2 separate regions of the Homo sapiens genome follow, and region 1 is linked to region 2. The links are contacts of gene promoters, found by promoter capture Hi-C in blood cells and fetal thymus (Javierre and others, 2016). All regions are on one chromosome and are shown on one strand. Each heading gives the region's core, a stretch centred on a gene start or on the middle of the fragment in contact. The rest is flanking DNA. Distances are from core to core; before and after follow the strand shown. Region 1 overlaps SF3B3 (splicing factor 3b subunit 3). Region 2 holds the start of DDX19A (DEAD-box helicase 19A).

What was found. The method cuts DNA at HindIII sites, captures the fragments that hold promoters and counts their contacts. A CHiCAGO score of 5 or more calls a contact.
Region 1: a fragment that was not itself captured here is called in contact with the fragment with the promoter of DDX19A in region 2 in 3 of 17 cell types (activated CD4 T cells, non-activated CD4 T cells and erythroblasts); the score reaches 5.4 in activated CD4 T cells.

The regions. Positions count from the first base shown.
Region 1 is chr16:70,545,871-70,548,640 of GRCh38, reverse strand. SF3B3 (splicing factor 3b subunit 3) reads right to left here. Exons shown (of 26, transcript NM_012426.5): 11 at 199-271. Among named protein-coding and RNA genes, the nearest start is that of SNORD111, 9.3 kb to the right of the region's middle. The HindIII fragment of the contact is 3,294 bases long and covers 1-2,770 here.
Region 2 is chr16:70,345,506-70,348,205 of GRCh38, reverse strand. DDX19A (DEAD-box helicase 19A) reads right to left here and starts at 1,303. Exons shown (of 12, transcript NM_018332.5): 1 at 1,158-1,303. The coding sequence starts at 1,214. DDX19A-DT (DDX19A divergent transcript) reads left to right here and starts at 1,459. Exons shown (of 5, transcript NR_039997.1): 1 at 1,459-2,007. RefSeq lists enhancers at 1,059-1,548, 1,067-1,684, 1,685-2,303. The HindIII fragment of the contact is 29,277 bases long and covers 1-2,700 here.

The sequences.
Region 1 (2,770 bases), core at 168-2,667, 200 kb before region 2:
TTTCCCACCTGCACAAAAAGAAATGGTAGGTGAAGGCATCCTGAACGGAAGAGCCTCAAAAACAGTGTTGGGCCAGAAAGTTTCTGGTATATGGTGCTAAATGAAATGATACAGAAGTATTATGAACGCAGCCTTTCAAGCCTTCTATGTCAATGGCACCTAGATCCTCATTTTGACTATTGGGAAAAAGCTGCTTACCTTCAATGTGTCGACGCACTGTCCAGACAGCGTTGGGGTTACCAGGTAGCTCAGAAACAGCCATTTCTGACACCTGACAGGAGAAGAGGGAAGCCACAGATCCAGTGAGCATGCAACTCAGCTACCTGCTTACAATCACATCAAAAAATAAGGTCTCAAAGGCAGGGTTCACAACGTATGCTGTATTTAAAGGATGAAACCACCTAGTGAAAGAAGAATCTAAGAACCAAACAGGCTGGTTCTTAGTGGCAATCCCCATGACAGTCTTAAGCAAAAGTTACAGGATGTCTGAGAGGGTACAGTTGCTGCAGGCAAAACCATACCCCTTTCCTTCAAGTACAATATGCCTTGATCATCCTCAGAACAGCAGTAACCACTGGGAATCAATCAGGCCATCTAAATTAGCATCCCCTTTCTTTCCCCAGCTCCCATAAGGCCAAATCCCATGTGGACCAATTCAAATGCCACCTCCTTTAACAAAATTATTCCCTTATCCCCTTGGCTGGCAGTCACCTCTCCCTTCTATAAGCACTCATAGAAATCAGTCACCACCGGCTGGGCCCAGTGGCTCACACCTGAAATCCCAGCACTTTGGGATGCCGAGGCGGGTGGATTGCCTTAGGTCAGGAGTTCAAGACCAGCTGGCCAACACGGTGAAACCCGTCTCTGCAAAAATATAAAAATTAGCCAGGCATGATGGCGGGTGCCGTAATCCCAGCTACTCGGGAGGCTGAGGCGGGAGAATCGCTTGAACCCGGGAGGCGGAGGTTGCGGTGAGCTGAGATTGCATCATTGCACTCCAGCCTGGGTGACTGAGCGAGACTCCGTCTCCAAAAAAAAGAAAGAAATCAGTCACCACCTCTTAGGGTACTAACTGTTTTGTCTTTCTGATTAGATTTTTATGCTCCTTAAAGTCAAGAGTGAATGATTCTCTACATGTCCTATAGGTTCTCAAACATAAGAGTAAACAAAACATCTAAGCCAAATTCAAAATGATCTAGAGGGGAAAACTGGGTGTAGGTTATACAGGAACTCTCTGTACTGTCTTTGCAATTTTTTTATAAATTTAAAATCATTATAAAATTAAAATTATTGAATGTTTTTAAATGATCTAGAGACAATAAACTAGCCACTTATATATAACGTGTAACCCACATCTTATAGGAAGAATTCATGTATATTCACAGAAAGACTAGCCCTTTTCCTAGTTTACTGGTATAATTAGAAGGAAGACCTAAGAACTTCATCATCAATAAAATTCAACTGTCAACTATGCTATAGTCTATACCAAATGTAAAACTGTCAGTCACCCTGGCTCAATTGAGACCACAATCTAGTTAGACAACAAGGTGTAACAAATAGACATAAAGGAATAAAGCAACGTTCAACAATTTAAAAAAAAATTTTTTTTTTTTGAGACGGAGTCTCGCTCTGTCGCCCAGGCTCGAGTGCAATGGCGCGATCTTGGCTCACTGCAAGCTCCACCTCCCGGGTTCACGCCATTCTCCTGCCTCAGCCTCCTGAGTAGCTGGGACTACAGGCGCCCGCCACCACGCCTGGCTAATCTTTTTGTATTTTTAGTAGAGACGGGGTTTCACCGTGTTAGCCAAGATGGTCTCGATCTCCTGACCTCGTGATCTGCCCACCTCAGAAAATATTTTTATATATAACAAAGGTTTGTCTATAGATTTGAAGTGGGGAGAGAAGTAGCAGGAAACTAAAAAATGATTCTTGAGTCATTTATCTCTTACACTATACAAAAATTTTCTGTTAATGCACATATGCATTTTTTTAGAGACAGTATCACTCTTTTGCCCAAGCTGGAGTACAGTGGCGTGATCTCGGCTCACTGCAACCTCTACCTCCCAGTTCAAGCTATTCTCCTGCCTTAGTCTCCTGAGTAGCTGGGATTACAGACACCCACCACCACTCTCGGCTCATTTTTGTAGTTTTAGTAGAGAAGGGGTTTCACCATGTTGGCCAGGCTGGTCTCGAACTCCTGACCTTGGGTGATCCAGCTGCTTCAGCCTCCTAAAGTGCTGGAATTACAGGCGTGCGCCACCGTGCCCAGCCGCACATATGCATTTTTTGTGTAAAGCACTAGCTTTCATCATATGCTCACTAGGATCCAATGAGAAATAAGTAACTAACGAATCAAGAGCAATGGCTCTTGGCCAGGCGCGGTGGCTCACGCTTGTAATCACAACACTTTGGGAGGGTGAAGTGGGAGGCTCACTTGAGCCCAGGAGTTCAAGACCAGCCCTGGCAAAATAGCAAGACCCTGTCTCTACCAAAAATAAATAAATAAATTAGCCAAGCGTGATGGCGCACACCTGTAGTCCCAGCTACTCCAGAAGCTAAGGTGGGAGAATTGCTTGCTTGAGACTGGGCGTTGGAGGCTACAGTGAAGCAAAGTCTCACCACTGCACTCAAAAAAACAAAAACAAAAACAACAACAACAAAAAACCAAAAACCAGACCTATGGCTCTAAATTGGGTCTGAGTCATTGAAATTTTGGTGAACTGATGAATATATTTTGGCAGAGACAAAACATTTTCAAATTCCCTGAAAC
Region 2 (2,700 bases), core at 54-2,553:
AAGTCCTACCCATTCTACCTTCATATCTTATACCCATCCCTTAATTTTCACTTCCACTGCCCAACATAGGCCCTCTATCTCGGGGCTATCAGAATAACTTCTACACTGATATTTCTATTAGCCATCACTTCTAACATATTCTGTTCTCTGTAGTTCAATAAATCCTTGCCAGCCTTGTCTAATTCTGTCAATAGCCCTCTCAAAAATCCCCATACCGGCTGGGCGCGGTGACTCACGGCTGTAATCCCAGCACTTTGGGAGGCCGAGGTGGGCGGATCACTTGAGGTCGGGAGTTCGAGACCAGCCTGACCAACATGGAGAAACCCCGTCTCTACAAAAAATACAAAATTAGCCGGGCGTGGTGGCGCATGCCTGTAATCCCAGCTACTCGGGAGACTGAGGCAGGAGAATCGCTTGAACCCGGGAGGCGGAGGTTGCGGTGAGCCGAGATGGCGCCATTGCACTCCAGCCTGGGCAACAAGAGCAAAACTCTGCCTCAAAAGAGAAACAACTACAACAAAAAAAAAGACAGTCCATTATCACTAAACAAACCTAAAGTTTAGGTCTTAGATATAAGAACAGAAAGCCACAGTGTATGCTGTAATTACATTCCAGTTGAATGAATATTCATTACTGAAAGAACAAGTACATGAAACCGTTACTTTACACATCAATGAAACAATTTGTAGTGCCTCCTTCCAACATCTGCAGTAGATTGAGGTATTAAATCCAAAAGTCAATCTGTTATTCTGCAAAGAGCTACAAACTACCAACCACGTTAAGCATGGATCTAAGAAATGTTAAATACAGAGTAGTACAGAAACATGCGAAGAACAGTCGCGTAATGAAAAAGAGAATCAGAATCTAAACTTGGCTTTCCTTATAATCGTCACCGAGGAGGTCAATAGAGGAATGACAGCATGCATAGTGGGGCGGATTTACCAAAGGATGAAGTCCTTAACCAGCCCAGATGGAGATAAAAAGCTCGACATTGGTCTCTTTAGCTCTAAGAGCAAATCAAGGGCAAGTGACTGCCCTAGCAAACTGCAGGAGCGCGTTGCCCAGGGGCCTCCCCAACCCGGGGAGCTCCCTGTGCTTTTGGGAGGTTTCGCTTGGGCCCCTGCTACGTCCTCCTCGCCAGGAGCTGAGCTACTGACCGACTTGACAGCCGCTTCCTGCTCGTCCACCGCCAGGGCCCACGAGTCGGTGGCCATAGTCCCGGACAAGGGAGACCCACTTGTGAAAATATGCGCTGCACCACGTCGCAACGCGGGCCCTAACCTCGCCACCGGCGCGAGAATGCACCTCACGCGGACCGGAAGCGGCGGTGAGCACAGGTGACGTCAGTTCCCACCCAGCGTGCGACATCATCATTCTGCGCGGCGCCAGGTCTCTCCTCGGGCCTCGCCTTTCCCTTCGTGCGCAAACCTCGCGCTTTTTGCTCACCCTTCCAGGACGCGGCCTCCTCGCTTCTTAAAATGTCTGAGCTCTACGAAGTGGAACTGTTAGCCCTCCGTTTATTGCCTTACTTCACACTGAAATAAGCCAACGTTTATTTTATTTTATTTATTTTATTATTTATTTTATTATTTTTTTTCGAGACGGAGTCTCGCTCTGTCCCAGGCTGGAGTGCCGTGGCGGGATCTCGACTCACTGCAACCTCCGCCTCCGTGTTCAAGCTATTCTACCTCAGCCTCCCGAGTAGCTGGGATTACAGGTGCCCGCCACCACGCCCGGCTAATTTTTGTATTTTTAGTAGAGATGGGGTTTCACCATGTTGGCCAGGCTGATCTCGAACTGCTGACCTTGTGATCCTCCCGCCTCAGCCTCCCAAAGTGTTGGGATTACAGGCGTGAGCCACCGCGCCCGGCCCCCAACGTTTCTTTTTAAGCCTGTCATATCTCACATTAAATGTGTAAGTCTCTGAACTGTAGGGCTTTGAACAAAGGAAAGTTCCATGAGAATACTATATGATGCCAATTTCTACTGTTAGGAACGCGATAACAGGTAAGAAAACAAAAACCAAAACGCAACAGAAGACCCGTAAACCCCATAATTCCACCATCCAATAAACACAACACACAATGCGTTTTTTCGTTTCTTTTTTGAGTCAGGGTCTCATTGTGTCGCCCAGGCTGGAATGCAGTGGTGTGATCTCGGCTCACTGCACCCTTGACCTCCCACCTCAGCCTCCCAGGTAGCTGGGCCCACAGGCCCGCACCACCACTCCTGGCTAGTTTTTAAACTTTTTGCAGAGACGGAAGTCTTCATTATATTGCTCAGGCTGCTTTTGATCTCCTGCTAACTCCAGAGATCCTCCTGCCTTGGCCTCTCAAAGTGTTGGGATTACAGGCATGAGCCACCACACCTGGCCATTATGTTGAAGGACCACCAAATACATAATGTATAATCTATTTATATGAGATTCAAGAATAGGACAAATAAAATCTATGCTGATAAAAACTAACAGAGCTTACCTGTGGAGAAGGATGTTTGGTCCAGACACAAGAGAACTTCCTGGGTGATAGAATTATTCTGTATCTTGATTGGGACCTGGTTACATAGATGTGTAAATTTGTTAAGTCATGCTACTTTGTATTTCTAAACTCATGGAACCATTATTTACAGATATCACCCAGGCTGGAGTGCAGTGGCCGGGTCTTGGCTCACTGCAACCTCTGCTTCCTGGATTCAAGCGGT